4 separate regions of the Homo sapiens genome follow, and regions 1, 2 and 4 are each linked to region 3. Evidence: promoter capture Hi-C in human tissues and cell types (Jung and others, 2019). All regions are on one chromosome and are shown on one strand. Each heading gives the region's core, a stretch centred on a gene start or on the middle of the fragment in contact. The rest is flanking DNA. Distances are from core to core; before and after follow the strand shown. Region 1 overlaps MDGA1 (MAM domain containing glycosylphosphatidylinositol anchor 1). Region 2 overlaps MDGA1 (MAM domain containing glycosylphosphatidylinositol anchor 1). Region 3 holds the start of CCDC167 (coiled-coil domain containing 167). Region 4 overlaps TBC1D22B (TBC1 domain family member 22B).

What was found. Contacts are between HindIII fragments. The study calls those that stand out against the background at their distance.
Region 1: a fragment that was not itself captured here is called in contact with the fragment with the promoter of CCDC167 in region 3 in 6 of the 25 tissues and cell types used here (IMR-90 fibroblasts, dorsolateral prefrontal cortex, hippocampus and 3 more).
Region 2: a contact is called between a fragment that was not itself captured here and the fragment with the promoter of CCDC167 in region 3, in 1 of the 25 tissues and cell types used here (liver).
Region 4: a fragment that was not itself captured here is called in contact with the fragment with the promoter of CCDC167 in region 3 in 2 of the 25 tissues and cell types used here (IMR-90 fibroblasts and hippocampus).

The regions. Positions count from the first base shown.
Region 1 is chr6:37,670,276-37,673,384 of GRCh38, reverse strand. The region is part of intron 1 of MDGA1 (MAM domain containing glycosylphosphatidylinositol anchor 1); the gene reads left to right. Among named protein-coding and RNA genes, the nearest start is that of MDGA1, 26 kb to the left of the region's middle. The HindIII fragment of the contact is 4,624 bases long and covers 1-3,109 here.
Region 2 is chr6:37,628,060-37,631,461 of GRCh38, reverse strand. MDGA1 (MAM domain containing glycosylphosphatidylinositol anchor 1) reads left to right here. Exons shown (of 17, transcript NM_153487.4): 17 at 1-783. Among named protein-coding and RNA genes, the nearest start is that of MDGA1, 68 kb to the left of the region's middle. The HindIII fragment of the contact is 8,275 bases long and covers 1-3,402 here.
Region 3 is chr6:37,498,293-37,501,577 of GRCh38, reverse strand. CCDC167 (coiled-coil domain containing 167) reads left to right here and starts at 1,685. Exons shown (of 4, transcript NM_138493.3): 1 at 1,685-1,756. The coding sequence starts at 1,715. RefSeq lists an enhancer at 1,493-1,692. The HindIII fragment of the contact is 4,936 bases long and covers 1-3,285 here.
Region 4 is chr6:37,326,610-37,329,702 of GRCh38, reverse strand. The region is part of intron 12 of TBC1D22B (TBC1 domain family member 22B); the gene reads right to left. Among named protein-coding and RNA genes, the nearest start is that of RNF8, 26 kb to the left of the region's middle. The HindIII fragment of the contact is 6,836 bases long and covers 1-3,093 here.

The DNA.
Region 1 (3,109 bases), core at 236-2,735, 170 kb before region 3:
TTAAGTGTTCATTTGCATTACATGCATAAAAGGATCAATAAACACTTGCATACCAGGATCTGGGAGGGCGAGAGGTGTCACGGCGAGGGAGGGACGGTTTCTGAGGATGCTGCACAGCATCGGTCCCACCAGGAATGTGGAGGCTCCGTGCTGAGCTGTGAGCCCTGCACTGGGCTAGGCACTTGCGAAGTGGAAATGCATGGCGGTTAGCATGAAAGACGGAGAGTCAGACAGACTCCAGACCAATGGGGTGTCCTTGGGTAACTTATATAACCTCGCTGAACCTCAGCTTCCTCATCTGAAAAGTCCGAACCATAGTAGGCTTGTTAGGAGCAATAAATATGATAAAAGATATAAAGCACTGAATATATTGCTGGCAGAGTAAATGTCAATAAAGGGTAGCTATTGCAGTTAATGTTATATTATGGGGATGGGGGGTGGGGGGAGACCTGAGACAGCACTAGTCTCTAGTTCACAGCAATCCCTCCCTGCTCCCTCTCTGCCTCTCAGTGGGCCTTTATAAGCATCGTTCTTATTCAGCTTTTCTAGCTACTGCTTCCCTAGTGCAGAGCCTGAGTGCCACAGCTCTCTGTTACCTCAGAACCAAGCTTAGCACCTCATACTGATAAGGGCTTGTTGAATGACTGTCTGATGGAAGCCAGGACCAGAACACAGATCCCAATTCTGTACCACTCCATCCAGAACACTCAGTGATGCTTCTGGGAGGTGGCTGGGGTGGTGGCACCTGCTCTGTCATCTGTGGGCAGATAGAACCAACTCTGGGCGGGGAATTTTGCAGCCACTCCTTCTCCTTTTGTCTCCTTGCCCCTTCCTCACCCTGTTCTTTGGTCATTTCCCAGCCTGCAGACTCTTTCCCTGAAGGAGCCAGAAGCAGGAAGAGGGCAACAGTCCTCTTCATTGATTATTGGCTGAGCTTTTGTTTTTTTGATAGGGGTCTTGCTCTGTCGCCCAGGCTGGAGTGCAGTGTGCAATCATGGCTCACTGCAGCCTCGATCTCCTGAGCTCAAGCAATCCTCCCTCTTAGCTAGGATTACAGGCATGTGGCACCATGCCCAGCTCATTAAAATTTTTTTTTTTTAGAGATGGGGTCTTGCTATGATGCCCAGGCTGGTCTTGAACCCCTAGCCTCAGGCAATTCTCCTGCCTCAGCTTCCCAAAATGTTGGGATTACAAGCATGAGGCACTGTGCCCGGCCTGAAGGAACTTTTTTTTTTTCTTTTTTTTAGATGGAGTCTCACTCTGTCACCCAGGTTGGAGTGCAGTGATATGATCTCAGCTCACTGCAGTCTCCACCTCCTGAGCTCAAGCCATTCTCCCACCTCAGCCTCCCGAGTAACTGGGAACACAGGTGTGCACCACCATGCTGGCTAAGTTTTTATATTTTTGGTAGAGATGGGGTTTCACCATGTTGCCCAGGCTGGTCTCGAACTCCTGAGCTCAAGTGATCCTCCTACGTTGGCCTCCCAAAGTGCTGGGATTATAGGCCTGAAGGTGCTTTTAATCAAGGTTTTCCATTTGTCTTGCTGTCTGTCTTGTTTGGCCCTCACCCTAGTGTTGTATCCACATGCATTTTATAGCACCCCTACCTGTGGCTATAGCAGCTGGGCATGGATTCTCTTATGGGGGATGGGGGTCTTTGATGAAATTCCCCCATTACAGTGAGAATTCTCTTTGGACCCTTAGTTGGCAGGTTGGAGTTTGTCTTAGTCTGACTCCCTGAGAGTTTGTGGCTTCCTCACTGGGCCTACTGGGTGCTGGAAGCCCCTACCCATAACTATACATTTTGGGTGTATAATTTTTGGGGAGGAAAAGAGTAAGCTGATAGGCCAGCAGCATTCTGCCTCGGCTGTGCTCATTAGGATGCTGCCCCAAGGGTGACATGTCTCAGGCCACTTGGCTGTTCTTAACTAAGGGACTGGGGAGGGGCATGTTAACCCCTCAGCTGTCAGTTTTGTATTAAGCTTTTCTCCACTAATTTTACAGAACATTGCTGTCTCTCAGGATGTTGTGCTCTGCGAAGAAGGGGGTTTATGGCCAATACGTTTAGAAAGCACTGAGTTAAACCAAGTTACACAGATGTGTTTACTGCAGGACTTTTCAGAGCCTTCAATAATATACTTTGTGTGCTAAGTCTTTCTCAGAGAGGGCGAGAGAAAGAACATGCAGCATCCTTAATTGACAGTGAAAATCGTCTGTGATGGACTATCAGTGAACACTCTGTGGCACACAGGTTGGCAGAGGCTGTTTTCCTTTTCCATGGGGTTTTGTTGATAGAAATCAGGAGAGTAAAATAGGAAAGTGTCATAGACCAGAGGCAAGGAAGCACACTTGGTTCTGAAATGCTGTTCAGTTTTCTATCCACTAATATGGTGTCAAGCAAAGATGATCAAATCCAGCCATGCCTCTGAAATTCCTGGGGACAATGAACAGAGTCCCAAGTTAGCAGGTGGAAGGCCTGGGTTTGAGTCTCGGCTGTGCTGCTGTCTCAGTGAGTGACTTGGACAAGACGGTTCCTCTTCCAGGCATTGGTCTCCTTCTCTGCCAATGGAGCTAAATATGACTTTCCCTTTCTGCTTCGCAGAACTGAGGCAAGGAGCTTGGAAATATACAGTGGACCCCAGGAAGGTACCAACCCTCATCATCTGTGACAGAGAAGGCAGGGTCCTTTCATGCAAACGGCTTGCAGGCTGCAGGGGATGTGAATTCTTGAGAGGAGTGCAGGATCATTTATAGAATAATAATGCTGGCTGACATTTTTAGATTGCATACTGCGTACCAGGCACTGTTTTAAACACTTTACATGAGTTTCTTTATTTATTCCTCACAACAACCCCATTTTGCAAATGAGAAAACTAAGGCTTAAGTAACTTGCTGAAAGCCACACAGCCAAGTGCACTAGTACCATGAGAAGGGGGATGCTCGGGGAAGGGCTCCAGCCCTTCCCACTTTCCATCCCCTCTGAAGCCCTGCACAGCCCTCAGCATGAATTTTGAACATGTTCATGAAACATCCCTACCCGTTTAATGTCTGCTTTGAGCATTTCCACCCCTGGGTTGCATGTGTACGGGTGCATAGCAGGTGGTCCCCT
Region 2 (3,402 bases), core at 547-3,046, 130 kb before region 3:
GGGCTCCCTCTCCCTACCACCTAAGTTTTATTGGCTCTCATGTTGGGTAACTTCTTGCTGGCACACCTGGCCTTTCTTTTCTAATGGAAGAGGAAGGGTCTAAGGGACTCACCACTGCTGTAGGTTGGCTCCCTGAGCACAGGAAGAGAAATCCGCTCAAGCTCACTCAAGTACAGGTGCATTATTGTGAGGACAAACACAGTGAGGGGGATGGGCACTCAGAAATCCAAACAGGAGTTGCAACAGGGATGGTTTTCCTGAACCAGATGGGCATTTTGGATTCAAGGTAGCTCTAGGATCATCATCTACAGAAGTTTCTGGTGCTTCTGTATTCTTCTGGTGCTTCTGTATTCTACCTGTGGTAGAATAAAGATGGCTGCAAATCCCATGTTATCCTTCCTGTAGAGAGGCAGAGTCTAATTCCCTTCCTCTTGAATCTGGGTTGCTCTTAGTGCCTTGTTTGTGCAATAGAATGTGACATGCTGAGTTGAAGATGCCTTGGAGCTTCAGCTCAGGCCTCTTGGAACGTTCTCTCTGGAAGCCCTGAACTGCCACCTAGGATGTCCTCTGAGTTGCTCTGAGACCGTCATGCTGGAGGGGCTCTGGCTGACCATCCCAGCTGAGTCCAGCCTTCCAGCCATCTCCACCAAAGCACCAGAAGATATGGGAGTGCAGCTGCCTCAGACCTTCCAGACCAGCCTAACTGCCACCTGAATTGCTCGGCCAAGCTCTGTCCAAATTCCTGACCCATCGTCATGGGATATAATAAAATAGTTGTTTTAAGCCCCTGCGGTTGGGAGTAGTTTTTGACAACAGCAATAGATGACCACCCTGGCATGACTCAGTCACTCCCCAGCATCTGCTGCTTTTTGTCCATGCAGTTCCTCTCCTGAGTCATGGTGTCTGCTTCCTCATAACTTCAGCTTTCCAGGCATCATGACCTCTCCAGCTCAACTCTCCTTCATGGCCTTCCGGTAGCAGCTGCCAGCATTCACTGACTCAGCCGCTCAGGATAATGGGCTGATTGGACAGGCCCCCATTTCAGGTCTAGCCACACATACATCATTGGGCAACCTGTGGGTTGGCTGCCCTTGAGTCAGATGCCACCCTGATCCAACCAGCTGGGCTGGAGGAAGGGGTCATGGACATGAAACAAGGCTACCTGGGGGCTGCCATTTCTAGGCAGTTTGTGGGTGGACCCACTTAGGAGGGGCAGGAGGCTGGCAGGCACCGAAAACACACCTCCTTGCATCTTCCCTCTTTCTCCCCTCCTCTAGTGACCATTCATTCCCAGGGGCACAGTAATGCAGTGTATGTACCATGAAAGTCCTCCAAGTGGCCCTGTCCAAGGGCAGGTCCCATTGCAAACTGTACAGGTAGGTCAGGTAACTTACAGCAACCGAGTCCTCTGTTATCAGGACTTTGACATATATATTGTTAAAGAACATAGCCAATTTACTTAGCTTATTTTTATTTATTTTTTAAGACAAGGTCTCACTCTGTCACCCAGGCTGGATTGCAATGACACAATCTTGGCTCACTGAAACCCCCACCTCCCAGGTTCAAGTGATTCTCATGCCTCAGCCTCCCAAGTAGCTGGGATTATAGTCATGTGCCACCATACCCAGCTAATTTCTGTATTTTTAGTAGAGGTGGGTCTTCACCATGTTGGCCAGGCTGGTCTCAAACTCCTGGCCTCAAGTGATCCACCCGCCTCAGCCTCCCAAAGTGTTGCAATTACAGGCGTGGGCCACCGCACCCAGCCAGGACTCTAATATTTTTATTTTCATATCACAGATGAGCAAAGTGAGGCTCAGAAAGGTGATGTGGTTACCCTAGCTCAGAAAATTCAGGAGAGGAAGAACCCAGAGGGAGATCTAGGTTTTTGACTTCTGGTGCGATGTGCGTTCACATCAGCCAGAGTCCCTCCTCTTCTTCCTCTCCTTGGAGATCACTCTGCTTTTCCCACCAGCTCTTCCCCAGGGGCTGGGAGAAGCAAGGCCTTTCCCTGTGAGGCTCGGGCTCCAGTCCTCTGCTTCAGATGGAGACCGTCCCTGTTCCTGCTTTTCTATTTCTAGCTTTTTGCATGTCCTTTATTGAAAGCTACTGTAACACCTTTTCAGAAAAGGGTTGGGTATAAATAAACACAAGAAAAAAGTCGAAACTCTCCTCCTTGAAGTCACCCCAAACCTGGGTGGAGGCATCCTTCCATACTGCTTCTTGAACCCCCGCTCCCAAATTCATCTTTCCTGGCCGTGCGTGCCCAGCGTGTTTCCTGTTCTGAGGTCCACTTGGCAGGGCCCCCGAATGCAAATCCCACCACCACATCCATCGCCCTGTCTTGTTAGCTGTTTGGCCTTCTCTAAAGATGTTTTGAATTGCCCATTTTTCTCAGGTCCCCTGGGGCCAGCCACAGTTCAGCAGAGTAGACTCAGCACCCTGTGAGTCCTCATTCCATCTATATACGCCACCCTCCATAAGCAGAGTCCCTCTCTGTCACCCCCCGTGCCGTTCCCCCAGAACCACCCGCCAGTTCACTCTCATCTGAGAGGCGGTGAGAAATAGAGTAAAACATGAGTCAGAGAGGCTGAGAGTGCCGAACGTCCACACAGTGGGAGTCTGTGCTGCCATTTAAAGATGTCCATAATATATTGTCGAGAGAGAATGGCAGATTAGAAAGCGCATGCCTGTTACTATCTTTTTTATGTAATAACATCTGTGTATATATGAGCATATGCATTTTTTTTTTGTCCGAAAGACTATTCACTGGAATGTGAATAGTAGTTATCTCAGCAGTGAAATTTCAGATGCTTCTGACTCACATCTTTAGGCTTTCTGTATTGTCTGAATATTTTTTCATGAACATATAATTTTTTTAATAACCAGGGGAAAAAATCTATTTTCTCGAGAAAATAAAAGCCAGAAGTCATCAAGGACTATAGATTAGAAATAAAGGTCACTTTCTGTTCTTAGCATTATTTTTATAACTGTACATCACAGAGTCTGGGAAAGGGCTTTGAACTTGAAATCTTTTCCTGCTGATTTATTCAAATAAAAATGCTCATGCAGTGGGGGAGGCGAGGGGGAAGAATTGGGTTGAGTTTACCAGGGGCAAGGCAGAGGGGATGTCGAGCCAAGCTTTCAATAACAGAAATTCCAAAGAGAAGAACACGACCTCCAGCAACAAACACTAACATTTAGTGTTATATCTGATGCCCATGCAGTGTGTGCGACTGTGTGTGCACAAGTGTGCATGTATGCTTGCACACATGTGAGTGTATGTACATGCCCACACATGTAAGCCTGCGGCAGCCTTGACCATATGATGAATTATGAAGCAAGTGGCTAATTGAGATGCCCAGGGTCAGTGGTTGCTGCAGTCAGAGTGGGAAGGGCCCAAGA
Region 3 (3,285 bases), core at 436-2,935:
CGGCTCACTGCAACCTCCGCCTTCCAGTTTCAAGTGTTTCTCCTGCTTCAGCCTCCCGAGTAGTTGGGTTTACAGGCGCCCACCACCACGCCCAGCTAATTTTTGTATTTTTAGTAGAGACGGGCTTTCACCACGTTGGCCAGGCTGGTCTCAAATTACTGACCTCGTGATCTGCCCAGCCTCCCAAAGTGCTGGGATTGAGAGGTAAAGCCAGCTGGACTTCCTGGGTTGAGTGGGGACTTGGAGAACTTTTCTGTCTAGCTAGACAATTGTAAACGCACCAATCAGCGTTCTGTGTCTAGCTAAAGGATTGTAAATGCGCCAATCAGCACTCTGTAAAAACCCACCAATCAGCGCTCTGTGTCTAGCTAAAGGATTATAATGCACCAATAAGCACTCTGTGTCTACCTAGGGATTGTAAATGCACCAGTCAGTGCTCTGTAAAAACGCACCAATCAGCGCTCTGTGTCTAGCTAAAGGATTGTAAATGCACCAATCTGCACTCTGTAAAAATGCACCAATCAGCACTCTGTGTCTAGCTAAAGGACTGTAAATGCACCAATCAGCACTCTGTAAAATGGACCAGTCAGTGCTCTGTAACAGGGGACAAATAAGGGAATAAAAGCTGGCCATCCCCCAGTCAACAGTGGCAACCCACTCAGGTCCCCTTCCATGATGTGGGAGCTTTGTTCTTTTGCTCTTCACAATAAATCCTGCTGCTGCTCACTCTCTGGGTCCGTGCTACCTTTAAGAGCTGTAACACTCACCGTGAAGTCAGTGAGACCAAGAACCCACCTGAAGGAACCAACTCCAGACACAGGATTACAGGCCTGAGCCACCGTGCCCGACTTTGTTTTTTTTTAATTAAATAGGCAAGAATACAAAATAACAGAGTGCATTACAGGAGGTAAAGGTACTTACTGTGAAACTTTGGTTTTGGTTTCATGGGTAACTGGGCCATGGTATAAAATACATTTTTTTATCGTAGGGTCACAGTCAAAACATTTCAAAGGCCGTGGGTCTATGGTGTACAGTATAGTACGATTACAACAATGTAAAATACTGTGTGTGAGGCCAAGCCTGGGAGGAATAAACAGAAGCAAAGAGGAACTGATAAAGTTGGTAGAATAAAGGATGCTGCTTCTCAGTTATATGTTTTCTGTGATGTTTGTAGGTTGTTCTTACAATAAAACAAACCAAAAAAAAAAAAAAAAAGAAGTCAAGACACAAAGGAGAAATAACAATAGAGGGCCATTATCAGATTCCATTGGCCGAGAAGCTCAAGGCTCCAGCACCGGCCTTGAAGGATGGACAGACTTTGAATGGGGGGCGTGGCCTAAACAGGGACGGGGTTGTTGCTGAAACACAAAACACACTGAAAGAGAACATGGGGTTAAAAAAGGCTCTCAGTGATGCAAAGCGGCTTAAAACTGGGGAAGAAAGGGGCAGGTCTACTCCCGGGCTGTACATTCTGCCTCCCTGTACCGACTTTTCCACCCTCCACCCATCTAGGCTGAGGTCTCAAGCTAGAGGTTGCCCCTCATAAACATGTCCGCACCAAGCCGGCCGCGCCCCTCAACAAGATGGCGACGGCAGCAGCCCCACCTCCCGCTGACTCGGTGGCCAATGAGGGAGAAGCACGAAGACTTGAGCATGCGCACATAGCGACTTGGTGGGCGCGTCCAGTGATGACTGGGGGATCCCGGCAAGTAACATGACTAAAAAGAAGCGGGAGAATCTGGGCGTCGCTCTAGAGGTGAGGGGAAAAGTGGGGGTTGGGCCACCTCGTTAGTTGCCTTCTCCTGGCCGCGGGATAAGGGATAGGCTGGGCTATAGATAGGAGGAGGAGCCAAGCGTAGGATGAGAGGGCGACGCGGTTTGGGGAGAGGGACGGGAGGGGTGAGAAGGCCCACGGGGTTCCCGGAGGACAGGGAGCCCGAGGAGGTGCCGGATGGGCGAACCAGACTCTCTGGAGAGGGCATCTCCAGAGAGGAAGAGACATGGAAGTGAAGGGGAGCCCCAAAGACGGCCTGGCATAGAAGTGAGGGAACTCAAAGCGGGGGACACAGAACAAAAGGGATGGGTACAGAGGTGAGGGAGACCCCAGAGAAATAGGGACCTGTAGAATCTAAGGAGAACTCCCAAAGGGCTAGGACTCAAAGATGAGGGAGCCCATTCTGGTGTATATTATTAATGGTTTAAATATCCTCTAAAAGGGGAAATTTTTCCTCCGGAGTATGGAAGCTTGTACCTTCAAAATTACTTTGGGAATATGTAAAGAGAATTCTGGAATTGGTGATGTCACTGAATGGCTTAAAAATAATTTGCTGCATATAGAAGGGAAAGAAAACATACATACTGAGCAACCGCTATGTGCTACTTTCATTGCATTGTTAATCCTCACTGCAAGCCTGTGAGGTTTGTACAGATGAGGAAATTGAGGTTCCAGGTGGAACCCAGGCTGAGATGGTGGAAGTGGTGGAGCCTGGGAATCAAGCACAGGTGGTCTTCCTGGAAATTCATCTTGCTTCCCCTGTTTTCCTTCCCTTAGGGCATCCTCCCGGAGGTTGCAGGAGAGGTACAGGGTCATAGTCTTCTTCAGGCTTACTAGTGAGTTCAGTGATTCTCAAACTTTAGCATGCATAGAGTCACAGGGCTTGTTAAAAATGGAGAGTTGAACTCTTCCCACACCCCGAGTAATTCAGTAGGACTTTGATGTGCATTCTTAACAAGGAATCTGCTTTTTTTTTTTTAAGACAGAGTCTCGCTCTGTTGTCCAGGCTGAAGTGCAGTGGCGTGATCTCGGCTCACTGTAAACTCTGCCTTCTGGGTTCAAGCGATTCTCGTGCCTCAGCCTCCCGAGTAGCTGGGATTACAGGCACGTGCCACCATGCCTGGCTAATTTTTGTATTTTTGTAGAGACGGGGTTTCACCGTGTTGGCCAGGCTGGTCTTGAACTCTTGACCTCAAGTGATCTGCCCGCCCGCCTTAGCCTCCCAAAGTGCTGGGATTACAGGCATGAGCCACCACAGCCGGCCAGAATCTGCATTTTTTTTTTTTTTACAAGCCACACACACCCCATGGTGATGTGGGTAGTTTTAGTGGCATCCCTTGAGAAATATTGGCCCACTTGGTAGGAAAAAGGTTGATGGAAATGTGAAGAGGATGGTTTATGAGTGGTGACTGAGATGGTACTTTGTGGCGGGAAGAACATAGACTTTGTAACCTGCATTAGGGTACAATAAGCTGCAGTAACAGAGAAACTCCAAAACTCAGTGGCTTCAA
Region 4 (3,093 bases), core at 362-2,861, 170 kb after region 3:
ACTCCAAAACCATAATGTTAGCCCTGGACTGCTTACACTTAGACTGTTAGTTGAAGGGAAATAAACAACTCTCTTGTTTTAAGCCACTGTTATTTTGAGGTCTTGGTTACAGTAGACAAGTTTATATCATCTTAACAAATACATACCATATCTATCAAAATAAGAAATGCACATGGTCTTTCATCCAGCAACTCTGCTTCTAACTCTCTATCCTAGGGAAATAGTCACACTACTGTGTGTACAAAGGTATTCACTGCATCATTGCTTCAAATAGTGGAGAAAGGATACTAGAAAAGCGTCTGGCAATATGGGAATGGTGAGATAAACCATGGATTATCTGCATCATGAGATGCAAGGCAGCACTTGAAACAAGCGAAGCCGGTCTACATGTATCAGTATATGAAGATAAAGAAGACATTTTGGAAAGGATAAAAAAGGCAGTTGCAGAACAATATTTACAGTATGATCCCACTTAGGTAAAAGAAAAAACACAACAATATATTTGTATATGTACATGTACACATAAACATTTTAGAGAAGTGGGAAACTGTTCACAGTGGTTACCCTTTGGGAGGGAAGCCTTTCACTTTTCTCTCATTATATTTATGTATCTTATAAAATATTTGTGTATTATTGTGTTATGAAATAACTTTTTTTTTTAGTAATAACTACTCTGGGCTGGGCGCAGTGGCTCATGCCTGTAATCCCAGCACTTTGGGAGGCCGAAGTGGGCCAATCACTTGAGGTAAGGAGTTTGAGACCAGCCTGGCCAACATGGTGAAACCCCGTCTCTACTAAAAATACAAAAATTAGCCAGGCATTGTGGTGGCCGCCTGTAGTCCCAGCTACTTGGGAGGCTGAGGCAGGAGAACTGCTTCAATCTGGGAGGCGGAGGTTGCAGTGAGCCGAGATCACGCCATTACACTCCAGCCTGGGTGAAGCTACTCTGTGGAAATTTTGTTTACTAAAAAGTAAAAAAAAAACAGAAAATAAATTACCCATAACTTCACGATCAAGAGGAAGCCATTTTAAAACATTTTGGCATATTTCCTTCCAGTCCTTTTCCTACATATTTTACATACTTGAAATATTTTCTCTACATAATTTTGAATCTATGCAACATTTACCGTAAGCATTTCCTCTAATATTAAAAATTCCTTGTAGATATTTTCAATATCCAAAGAATTTTCCATGATGTAAGATGTACCAGAATTTACATCCTCCTGTTTTGAGCATTTAATTATTTCTGGTTTTTCACTATAAAAAATTATAATGAACATCTTTATGCACAAAGCCTTATCTTGGATTATTTCCCTAAGCCAAATTCCTAGAAATGAAATTACTATTTCAAAGGGCATAAACATTTTATTTTTATCTATCTATCTATTTATTTATTTAGAGACAGAGTCTTGCTCTATTGCCCAGGCTGGAACGCAGTGGCACAATCTCAGTTCACCGCAACCTCCGCCTCCCAGGTTCAAGCGATTCTCCTGCCTCAGCCTCCCGAGTAGCTGGGATTAGCCATCACACTTGGCTAATTTTTGTATTTTTAGTAGAGATGGGGTTTCACCATGTTGGCCAGGCTGGTCTCGAACTCCTGACCTCAGGTGATCCGCCCGCCTCAGCCTCCCAAAGTGCTGGGATTACAGGCATGAGCTACCGCGCCTGGCCCACCACAAACATTTTAAAGGTCTTTAACATTCAACCAGAAAATATATTCCAGAAAAATGCCCATTTCCCTAGATCTCTACCAGCACTAAATATTCTCATTTAAAAAAAAAACAAACTTTGCTAATGCAAAGTCTTCCCTTTGATCCCCAAGCCCAAGAACAGAACTCAAAGCCGTCATGATGGTGGTGAACCCCCGGAGGAGTGCACATCCCAAGGTCCCCACTCTCCCCTCCATGGTTGCTGGCATCTGCTCTCTCCAACCCTCCAGGCAAACCCCTCCAGTCACATGATTACGGAAATTCACTCAACCAGACCAGTTATTCAACCAGTTATTGATATTCACTCAAGCCAGCAGATGCTCTGCTTTTAAAAACTCTGCCTTTAGCTGATCGGAACATCTTTGGAATATTCCCCTCTCACAGGAGTAATTCCCTCTTGGTTCTATTCTGGCCTCAGTCCTGTCTGCCTCAAAGCTTTTTTTGTTTGTTTTGTTTGAAAGAGAACCATCATTTCTATCTCAACTTATTTTTTTTTTTTTTTTTTTTTTTTTTTTTGAGTCGGAGTCTGGCTCTGTCGCCCAGGCTGGAGTGCAGTGGCACGATCTCGGCTCACTGCAAGCTCCGCCTCCCGGGTTCACGCCATTCTCCTGCCTCAGCCTCCCGAGCAGCTGGGACTACAGGCGCCCACCACCACGCCCGGCTAATTTTTTGCATTTTTAGTAGAGACGGGGTTTCACCGTGTTAGCCAGGATGGTCTCGATCTCCTGACCTCGTGATCCGCCCGCCTCGGCCTCCCAAAGTGCTGGGATTACAGGCGCGAGCCACCGCGCCCGGCCCTATCTCAACTTATTTTTTAAAATGTTGACCTTGGACCATACTACATGCCCCCACCCCCATGCCACCATGTACTCCCTGGCCTCTGGCCCCTTTTACCCATCTCTGCTGCTTCCTACCTCCTTCCCGCACCATGTCCCTATCCCACAACAACTGGAAAAGGTGTTGCCTCTTTTTGCTAACATTCTCCTCAGGTAGACCACTTGTATCCTAAGTTAGGCAGGCTCTCTTTATAATGGTCTCAGTCTTTTCTGTACCTTAGACTCTTGGGCTGTCTGGTGAACCCCATCAATCTCCTCAGAATAATGGTTTTAAATATTAATACATAAAATAAAATGCATACTAATCAATTTTTTTAAAATTTGTGATATTCACCTCTGTGTGGTAAGATTTCTTTTTCTGTTTTTTTTTGAGACGTAGTCTCGCTCCGTCACCCAGGCTGGAGTGCAGTGGCATGATCTTGGCTCACCACCACCTCCACCTCCCAGGTTCAAGCAATTCTACTGCCTCAGCCTCCTGAGTAGCTGGGACTACAGGCATGAGCCACCATGCCTGGTTAATTGTTTTTTATTTTTAGTAGAGACGGGGT